2 separate regions of the Homo sapiens genome follow, and region 1 is linked to region 2. The links are contacts of gene promoters, found by promoter capture Hi-C in human tissues and cell types (Jung and others, 2019). All regions are on one chromosome and are shown on one strand. The core of a region is centred on a gene start or on the middle of the fragment in contact, and the rest is flanking DNA. Distances in the headings are between cores, read along the strand shown. Region 1 has its middle 23 kb from the start of FERD3L. Region 2 holds the start of TWIST1 (twist family bHLH transcription factor 1).

The links. The method cuts DNA at HindIII sites, captures the fragments that hold promoters and counts their contacts. A contact is called where the count stands out against the background at its distance.
Region 1: a contact is called between a fragment that was not itself captured here and the fragment with the promoter of TWIST1 in region 2, in 1 of the 25 tissues and cell types used here (hippocampus).

The regions. Positions count from the first base shown.
Region 1 is chr7:19,166,157-19,171,178 of GRCh38, forward strand. No RefSeq gene overlaps it. Among named protein-coding and RNA genes, the nearest start is that of FERD3L, 23 kb to the left of the region's middle. The HindIII fragment of the contact is 3,931 bases long and covers 181-4,111 here.
Region 2 is chr7:19,115,351-19,120,854 of GRCh38, forward strand. TWIST1 (twist family bHLH transcription factor 1) reads right to left here and starts at 2,286. Exons shown (of 2, transcript NM_000474.4): 1 at 1,321-2,286; 2 at 118-781. The coding sequence starts at 1,971. The coding sequence ends at 1,363. RefSeq lists enhancers at 1,293-1,552, 1,576-2,359, 3,433-4,296. The HindIII fragment of the contact is 7,370 bases long and covers 1-5,504 here.

The DNA.
Region 1 (5,022 bases), core at 896-3,395, 51 kb after region 2:
TGCTAACTGAAAGGTTTGGAGAATGTGACTTCTATTGACTTGAGAATGGATCTGGGTTCTTGAAGTCTAAACCTGGAAATTCTCAAAACCTTATAAGCTGTTATCAGTTTAGTTATCTGGCCCATGATCTAATTATGCATTTCTTATATTGTCTAGTTTTGTGTCACCTGCAATTCAGTAAGATTGCTTTGGACCCTGTTGTTTAGATTATGTTTGTAACACCCAATGCAGATAGAATTTTGTGGAATCCAGTTTGTACTTGCCTTAATTGATTTTGGTAACTCTGAAAAAGGCTTTCAAAGAAAAATTTTAAATAAAATTTTATAGTGAATTACACATACTGAACATGTTTTTAAAAATATCTTGATTACATTTATCATCAATATGAAATGTAATGCAATTCTCATCCTAAATATTGATGATATTTAATGTAATTCCATTATTTTGAAAGCTTGGAAAGTCTCTATTTGTGGTGAACAATTAAATGTAGGACCAATGGTTTTAGTAAATAGACTAAAAAATATGAAAACCACATAACCCAAGTAGTTATATAATACTAAACAAACTTTCTGAAACATATTTTTAGGGCTATATTCAGTAAAAAATACATGGAATCAGCAGTTTTTCCATGGATTATTTTTTCTGATGGCTTAATAGTCTGGTCTTTGCATGACTGAAATTATAGTTGGAGTACTGGAATTTACATTGCAGTAAAATTCCCTTCCTTTGCTGTTCAATGGGTATGGCTTTTAATTAGCTGATGGCTTTTAGTTTTCCTAATGTTATAAAGATTATTCAGTTATTATATATAAAGTACATAAATAATCGTATTTTAAGCCACATAGAACAAAATTAATTACGATTTTTAAAAATTGAAAAGTAATAATATATTTATTTCACATTAAACATGAAATCAATATTATTATATAACCTTGCTCACATAGACAGTATTAGGCCTTAACAATCAATAGTGAGATTCTATCTAACTTTTAACAGTTTGGTGGGGCAGTTCTTACTAGTCTATAATTGTTAGCCCTTTTTAAAAAGACCCCTTTTAAAGCCCTTTTAAAATCTTTTTTACAGATTTGTTAAGCAGGTGATTTTTAATTGAATAACATTGCTTACCTAAATTCAAGTGATAAGGTTAAAATATGCTTCTATTTTGTAGGTTAGCTTGTACTCATTCATGCTACTGGAGATCTAGACTAGCAGTTTGTTAGGAACAAACTTTGTTTTCAGATATCACTATTCTAATAATGACTAAACTGTACACTTTGGTGTTATCGTTAATATCACATTGGCCTTTGCCAGACATATCTATTTCGTCTAAAGACTAGTTTGCCAATTTTACTCCTAACTTTTGTTTGTTTTTGTTTTTGTCATATCTATCTCTTCCTCTCCATTCTTTTCTACAGCTGTAGTTTGGCACTTAAACTATCTTTCAATGGGACAAGAATGCTAACCTCTCAGGTAGACTTTCAGACTTTTCCCAGAAAAATATTTGAGTCATGGTAGAAAGAATCATATTTCAATGCCATTTTGATGTGCCAGTTCAAATACTTCATCTGTCTCTTGAAGCTTGACCTGATTTTTAATTCTTAATTTTATTAAAATATAATTTAATGTTTTGTCATTGTTTTCAAGGTTTCCAACTACTTGCACTCTCCCTATCTTCTCTAGGTATATACTCTTTAGCAGCACTATCTAATAAAAATATAATGTAAGTCATATATGTAATTAAAGTTTTTCTTCACATATACCCTGTAATAATCTGAGTCTAATCAAGTACAGAAATCACACAGTAACTTAAATAGGGGAAGTTTAATATAAAGAATTATTAAGCTAAGATAAAACTAGGAAGATTTAAAAAGAACTCTAAAAGGTATCCTAGAGCTGAGGAAGAGTAGTCAAGGAAGGATAACCTTGAAAGTGGGGGACCTCTTTCAGGCTGAGGTCCATACTCCCTGGAAAAAATTATAATTTCAGCTCACTGGACAGCAGACAATTTGCTAGATTACCTGGGCAAGAGTGATGGTCTACAGTTGCTGAGCAGCAAGGAACAATCCTCGAGGGTGCAATTGTGACAAGCTGAGGCTAGTAGGTGGGTATTCAGAAAGGGTTGGGGCACTCTTGTGGGTGTGGTGTCTGTATCAGAAGGGTTATGGGAAGGTGATGAGGGCCTGTGCACCCTGGATACATAGTTAGGGATGAGCACCAACAAATAAATGTCCTCAAGCACCCACATGTGGAGTGATTGTTTATCAGGAACAAGATAAAACCCCAAAGCTCAGCAGTAAGAACCGGGAAGAGAAGTCTTCTGCATCCTGCAATGTCCCTCTAGCACCTGCAACTGACAAAGCTTAAAATCATATTGCCTATGAAGGAGAAATGTTTAAGAATACAGTTCATTATCACAGAGCATGTACATAAGGGTGACTTTGGGACTCAGATGCAATAAATTGATAATGGACACAGCCATATTAGAAAAACTCAGGTGAAATAAATAAATATAATATTGAATGCAATTTCACAATGCATTATTTCAGCATTTAACCAATACAGAATTGTTAATGAGATATTTTACTTTTTTAATACTAAGTATTCAAAATTCAATGTATATTTTACACCTACAACATAACTTGGACACCAAATTTTCATTGTATATATTTGATGTATATTTAAATTTCATAAAATGTATAGTTGAAAAGGTAGATTCATATACTCAAATTATGTCACATTTACTTACCAGTTTTCCAATAACTTAATTGAGAACCCCAAATCATTTTTATTAACATTCAAATGCATATTGATAAAACTGATTCAGTTATTGGAGGAATTGATAGAACTTTAAAACAAAAGTATATTAATTTCAAGATGGTATCTGTCCAAGTTAAGTAAATTCACTAAATCTTCAATAACTTCACATTATTAACATTAAATTCAAAAGGGTTTGGTAAAATTGAAAATTATGAATTTATCAATATCGACAAAATGTTCTTCAAAATTTCTTGCAGTTTTTCAATTTACATAATGCTATCAAACACAATTAAAGTTTTGCATTTAGATCCATGTTAGATAAGTGAATAAAAGCATTATTTTTGATTATAAGATGAAGTCTGAATTTTAACATGAATTATCATATCTGTTTAGCTAAGTCACAAATAAGCTTTTCCTTTCCTTGGAGGTTCAAATTTAGCTTATTCGTATGCCATTTAATATGGCTTATAATTTGATAAAAAAGAAGCCCATCAGAATTTTAAATAAATTATGTTAGCTTGAATTAAAAGGAACAGAGGAATTTTATAACAAGATGTATCTAGGTCCTTAACTTTCTGTAGACATGAAGCAGACAAAGTTATTTAGCTCTACACACAGGTGAAGATAGAGCCATGTGTCATGGTAAGCCACTCTCAGGCAACTCAGTCGGCTTTAATTAAGTAACTTTAATGTGTTTAGCTTTGTAATAGATTTGTCATTACTATGAACCTTCCTTCCCTCCTTCTCCCTTTTTGAATTGGAGCACCCGTTGAAGTTTTCCTGTCTCTTTTCCACCATTGTATGTGAACAGATGCCTTGTTTCCTCATATTGAGGAGAACCATTCTCAAGGAACTTCTTCCAAGGAACTGTGCCTAGACTCATCTCTACTTAGACCTGATGTAAATGAAATTCTCAACTTGTAGTTGATGCAATAATGAAAGGAGGCTGTTAGGGGTCTTGAAATGGGTGAAATTCTTTTGTACATGGAGGGATGTGAGTTTCTGTGGCCAGTAGCTAGGCTGTGATAGTTAGTCTCCAGAGATCCACAAATTATTATTCTCCTCCCTGGATGTACATGCCTCTCTTCCCATTAAGAGGTGGAGCTTATGTTCCCTTCCCATTGAACTTGGGTTGGGACATAATTCCAATGGAATGTAGAAGAAGTGATGGTCTAGATTGCAAAGACCAGGATATAAAAGGCCTGAGAGCTTCTTTTTCCTTCTTAAAATTCAGCTTCAATGCTGTGAGCAAGCCCATGCTGTTACATCAAGATACACAATTTGAGTGTAATTGAGCCCAGCTGATGTTCCAGGAGATGGTTGGCACCAATTTGTTGGTTATGTGAGTGAACCAATATTGAAGTAAATACTCAAGCCTTAGTTAAGACACCCCAGCTGATGCCCCATGGAGTGGAGGCAAGTTGTCTTCTCTGAGGTCTGCCCAAATTGCAAACTCATGAGCGAACAATTGAGTTCTTTTTAATTCACCAAACTTTGGTGTAATTTTTAAAGCAATAATAAATAACCAAACACAATGCTATATATTATTTTTTGGATATATACCCTCATACAACAGTTATATGTGTATCTGTATATATCTATATCTATAGATCTGTAATATCTATATCTATATCCATCCATGTCTCTGTCTATGTCTGTATCTATATTTATATATATCTATTTATATATCTATCTATATGTAATAGACACAGAGAGATGCCACCCAGATTCCACTTTAAAGAGATTTTGCTGCCCAACTGCAAGGAATATCAGCAGAGAGCCTCCAGTTGTTAGATCCTTCACAGCAGTGGTCTCCAACCTTTTTGGTACCAGGGACCAGTTTCATGGAACGCAGCTTTTCTGTGGACCAGGCATAGGACAGATGGTTTTGGGATGATTCAAGCACTTTACATTTATTGTGCACATTATTTCTATTATTATTACATTGTAATATATAATGAGATTTCTATATTGTTCTATTATATTCTGCTACTCTATTTCTATTATTATTACATCATCATATATAATGAAACAGTTATGCAACTCACCATAATGTAGAATCACTGAGAGCCCTGATCTTGTTTTTCTGCAGCTAGATTGTCTAATGTGGGGACAATGGGAGACAGTGACAAATCACCAGGCATTAGATTCTCCTAAGGAGCACGCAACCTAAATCCTTTGCATGCACAGTTCACAATAGAGTTTGCGCTCCTATGAGAATCTAATGCTGCCAGTGATTTGAGAGGCGGCAGAGCTCAGGTAATG
Region 2 (5,504 bases), core at 1,036-3,535:
TTCATTGCTTTGTTTATATTAGTGCCCCCTCCCTCCTGGGTGCCTCTAGAATTAAACAAGCAGGTATTTACCACCAACTTAATCTTTAGTTTTAAAAATATAGACCAAACTCTAAGGTTCTCTAAATTTTTTATATTTATTTATTGCAGAAAAATATACAAAGATATTTACAAAACAATCATAAAAATATGAATGCATTTAGACACCGGATCTATTTGCATTTTACCATGGGTCCTCAATAAATAAATAGAATGTTGTTTTTTGTATTTTAAGTTTTTTTTTGTTTTTCCCCTCAGAGGAAGGATGAAAAAAAGAATTAACTGACTATGGTTTTGCAGGCCAGTTTGATCCCAGTATTTTTATTTCTAAAGGTGTTCTTATAGTTCCTCTGATTGTTACCATTTTAAAATAGAGAAAGTCCATAGTGATGCCTTTCCTTTCAGTGGCTGATTGGCACGACCTCTTGAGAATGCATGCATGAAAAAAATAAAAATAAAAACATTCTTCGTCAAAAAAAAAAAAAAAAAAAACACAAACAACTGTTCAGACTTCTATCAGAATGCAGAGGTGTGAGGATGGTGCCGCTGCCCGTCTGGGAATCACTGTCCACGGGCCTGTCTCGCTTTCTCTTTTAAAAGTGCGCCCCACGCCCTGTTTCTTTGAATTTGGATTTTGCTCTTCTAATTTCCAAGAAAATCTTTGGCATATATTTTTATTTTTAGTTATCCAGCTCCAGAGTCTCTAGACTGTCCATTTTCTCCTTCTCTGGAAACAATGACATCTGCAAAAACCCAGAGGGGGGGGGGGGAGTCGGTTATTGTTTAGGTCTCTGCGGCTGTTTTCTAAGACTAGTGAGCACTGTTCTTATCACCACCACTGAGAAATTAAGCTGAACAACCTGGAAGGATTTCAGCCCAAGGGCAAGAGGAAGTGGGTGGGTGGAAAGGAGGAGGAGGTGGAATTTGTTTTAAAACATTTGTTTTAAGGAGAACAAAAATTGAAAGCCGAAAGAAAGGGTGGCGCTGACAAAACGGTCCTTACCCGTGACCCTGGGTGTCTCTGTCTCCCCTCCTGTCACGCACACTCACGCGCACACACACCCCTCACCAGGGCGCATCCCCCTGGAGACTGCTCTCCCTAGCGGGGTCAGACCGGCCTTCCGGGGACGCTGGGGGCGCGAGGCAACGGTGCCAAGTGAGGTGGGAAGGCTGAGCGGAGAGTGGGAGAGGGGAGGAAATCGAGGTGGACTGGGAACCGCGGCCTGGCCGGCCTGCCGTCTGCCACCTGAGAGGCGAAGGGGTGCAGCGGCGCGGTCCTTACCTAGGTCTCCGGCCCTGCTGAGGGGGTGGGGGGCTCCGCCTGCTAGTGGGACGCGGACATGGACCAGGCCCCCTCCATCCTCCAGACCGAGAAGGCGTAGCTGAGCCGCTCGTGAGCCACATAGCTGCAGCTTGCCATCTTGGAGTCCAGCTCGTCGCTCTGGAGGACCTGGTAGAGGAAGTCGATGTACCTGGCCGCCAGCTTGAGGGTCTGAATCTTGCTCAGCTTGTCCGAGGGCAGCGTGGGGATGATCTTCCGCAGCGCGGCGAACGCCTCGTTCAGCGACTGGGTGCGCTGGCGCTCCCGCACGTTGGCCATGACCCGCTGCGTCTGCAGCTCCTCGTAAGACTGCGGACTCCCGCCGCCGCTGCTGCTGCCGCCGCCGCCGCCCGCGCCGCCGCCGCCGCCACAGCCCGCAGACTTCTTGCCGCGCTTGCCCTGGGCCGGGCTGCCCGGCTCGTCGCCGCCTCCGACGCCCCCACCCGCGGCTCCGCCGGGCCCCGCGCCGCCGCCCGCGCTGCGCCTGCTGCTGCGCCGCTTGCGTCCCCCGCGCTTGCCGCTCGGCGGCTGCTGCCGGTCTGGCTCTTCCTCGCTGTTGCTCAGGCTGTCGTCGGCCGGCGAGACTGGCGAGCTGGACACGTCCTGCATCATCTCTCGAGCGGCGACGCGTGGCCTCGCGGGCCCGGGGCAGAGGAGAAGAGCGGGGCGCCTCAGCCCGCCAGCTTCCCCCGCGCGCGGCGCCGGCCCGGGCGATGCGGCCCGCGGAGGAGAGAGCAGGAGGACGGACGGGAGGGACCTCCGCGGGGAGGGCGCGCGGGGGAGGCGGGGAGGGAGGCGGGAGGGGGAGGGGACGGTGTGGATGGCCCCGAGGTCCAAAAAGAAAGCGCCCAACGGCTGGACGCACACCCCGCCAGGCCTCCTGGAAACGGTGCCGGTGCTGCAGAGCCCGCGAGGTGTCTGGGAGTTGGGCGAGAGCTGCAGACTTGGAGGCTCTTATACCTCCGTGCAGGCGGAAAGTTTGGGGGCAGCAGTGTCATTGGCCTGACGTGAGGAGGAGGGACTTTTCGAAGTTTTATAGGAAAGTTTCCGCTTTCCAGTCCCCCTCCCCCGTCCCACCTCCCTTCCTCGGGGTCTAACAATTCGTCCTCCCAAACCATTCAAAAACGACCTGGCCCGGGCGGCCGGCCCCTCCACCCGCCTCCTAGCCGCCCTCCCCCTTCCCTCCCCGTCGCCTTCCTCCGGCGGGCGCGGGGCGATTTCCTTCCCCGCCGGAGCGTGCGGGCAGCGCCCCCGAACCCTAGCGCAGCCCAGGAAGCGGTCGGAGGAGACTGTCCTGGCCGCGGTGGCAGCCCCATCCGGAGTGGCTGTGACAGCAGCAATGGCAACAGCTTCTACACAGTGGGTGATGTCTCATCTCGCCCAAGAGCCCTCTAGGTCCGTGGGGCCGATTTGGGATTGCTGGGGCTGGGGGGGTGGTGTGGCGCGGGGTGGGGGGGCATGCCAAGAAAAGTGTCAACCGCGGAGCCCACCCAATGGTCAGGTAGACGAACCCCTTGGAGTTCCAAAGGCCAAACCGCGGCGGCCCAGCCCGGAGGTCCTGGGCGTTTCTGAAGACGTGGCCGCGCCGCGGGGGCTGAGGATTTGCGTCCCGGCCTGCTCTCTCGCCCTTCTGGGCCCTCCTTTCCCCTCTACAACGACCCAGTCTGACGCTCCCCAACATCCAAAGGACTACGCCTCGGAAGGTGCTCGAAAGAGGCAGAAGTTCACTCTTCGGTGGAAGGAAACCCAGTCCATGGGAAAGGCAGCAGAGCCAGAGGGGGGCAGCGCAGCGCCTTTGCTGCGGCCCTAACAGCTGGCAATGCCAACCCAAGGGAGAGACCCTGTGGCCATTTCATCCCCACCCCCAAATTAGGCTCCGCATTGTGACCTTGAAAGGCCAGCTTGTAAGAGAGTGAAGTGGGAATTTGATAGCGCCTAGACATAGGGGCTGCCCGCTCTGAGACCCCCCCCGCCCCAGCCCCCACTATCTAGGGCATCCAGTGGACAATTAGGCTTCGTGAGCCCCAATTCCAAATGCTTGGATACGCTAACATTTTAAGCATTTCTGTCTGTAAGTTAAAACGAAGAGCCCCAAAGAGGGTGTTAATGTAGATCCTGGCAAACTGGAAGCAGCAAAGTTGGTGAACCAGAAAGGAAGTCGCCTTGGATAAGAAGCCCATCTTTTGCAATGCCATACTTGTTTCCTTTTTGAAATGAATTGAGGTAAAATAACCGTTTCAGGTCCATCCCTTACATGGCAAAGTAAAAAGCTGGAGTCAGTACACAGTGTTGGGGTGGGGGCAGCGTTTGGGGGCGACGAGTTTTGTGCACCGCGCTGGAGTACCCTGCACATAAGGTCCGCTCATGGGCTTCTCAGTACGGACTCGCCGGCGGGAACAATTAATTGAGCAAAGCGCCCCTTTCTGGGCTGGAGCAAGGTTCGCGGCTGCAGATATCTCAAGCTGAAGGCAAGAGCCCAGGCGAGGCGCAGGCAGGCCACGTGGCTGTTCCCTGCTGAGACTCGCAGCTTTGGTCTTGGAAACCTCAGGGTGTGGAGCTGCTTGGGCCGACTGAAGGGTTCAGCTTTTTGGGAGAAGTGAGGGCGAGTGTTATTTCTCCAGCGAGGTGTAAACAAGACTGTGCTTTCATGGGAGGGACAAATTGCAGAGTTGATCCCTTACCATTTTTACAGAAATACTCAGAAAGTGACTACAGCTTGTCAACTGGCCTGTTTAGTGAGCCGCTGCCTTACTGTAAAATTGTCTGAAAATCAGATTCGACTTGACCTCCACTTAATTTCAGTAGCACTCTAGCAGTTCTCAAAACAGTCACCCCTGCACCCTTGCGTTTGCATCTTCCGCTACAGGATTTTATCTCTTGGAAGCGCTTAGAGAATGCGGCAGAAATTCTGCCCCACTCTCCACCAAGTGTTCTTTTTGTAAATCTGAATTTACAGTATTCTGCAATTCTTATTTAGAACGTGGCTGCAGAAATCTCGAAACCTTTTCCACTTCAGCTATTTTTTTAAAGATAAATCTTATTTTTGTTTTGTTCTTTTTTTCTCTTTTCTCAAAAATAAATAAAGAGATCGAATGATTGGACTCTTTCCTTTGTGGCCACGGATAAGTAAGACAGGAAAGTGTGGGTAAAGTGTAAAGGAAATCTTACCTGACCAAGGGGAATTTGGGAAGGGGAGGGGAGCGGACAAGCTAGAGGAGAAACCAAGTCCACAGCAGCGCAGCAGCCAGGGGTCATTAGCCAGTCCATCTTGCAAAGTCATCAGTCTCAAAGACTGGTTCTTAAACAAGTGAGCCCAGCCCTTTTCCCGGCACTAAACTTCTAGCTGATGAAGAGCTCCTGGCCATTGGGTACAGGGATCCCCGCAAGGCTCAGGCGACGCTCTGATGCCAGAATACTGAGAGGGGAATTCAAAATGAACACCTAACCAGAACCATCCTGCCCATGGACTCTTTCAGCCACAGTCACAATTGATGACTAGTTCTAAGAAGAAATGGCTCTTGAACTGTTCCGGGGAGTGGAGGATGAGACGACTTTTGAGTTCTTAAGTGGGGCTTGAATGTTACTTTTGGAGCAAAAGTAGTCCAGGAGGTACCTCTCAAAAAATGGCTGGAGCTAGATACTCCCTGCTTTGCAAACTGCAACACGCCCTGGCTGACGAGTCCAGTCTGCTCATATACAGCTCTTTCTTATCTAACATTTTACCTAACAATTTTCTTTTCCACATTTGCAAGGATGGCTCCCTTTTTACTTGTTGACAGGTCAGGTATAATTCTGGATTCTCTTATATATGCAACAATAATTGCAACTTCTGCAATGTTTAGTTTAAATTTGAAAGCTTCTTTCTAAAATCCCAATCTTGAGATCATGAAAACAATCTTAGAAATTTTCTTTTGAGGCTGAAGTTAGCCTAACTGGAAGTATGTCAGTGGGGACTACCTTCTTTGGGAATGCTAGATTAACTGGAATTCAGTCATTTTGCCTCCTTCTAAAGTAAAGTCCTCCCCAAAAAAATTTAACTGAAAAAAAAAATTTCTTTTGTACTTGGATAGTTCAAAACGATCTTTGTTTTCAAACTGCAAACTTGGCATGTTTGCAATCCTGCCTGAGGAATGTGTGCTGTGTTA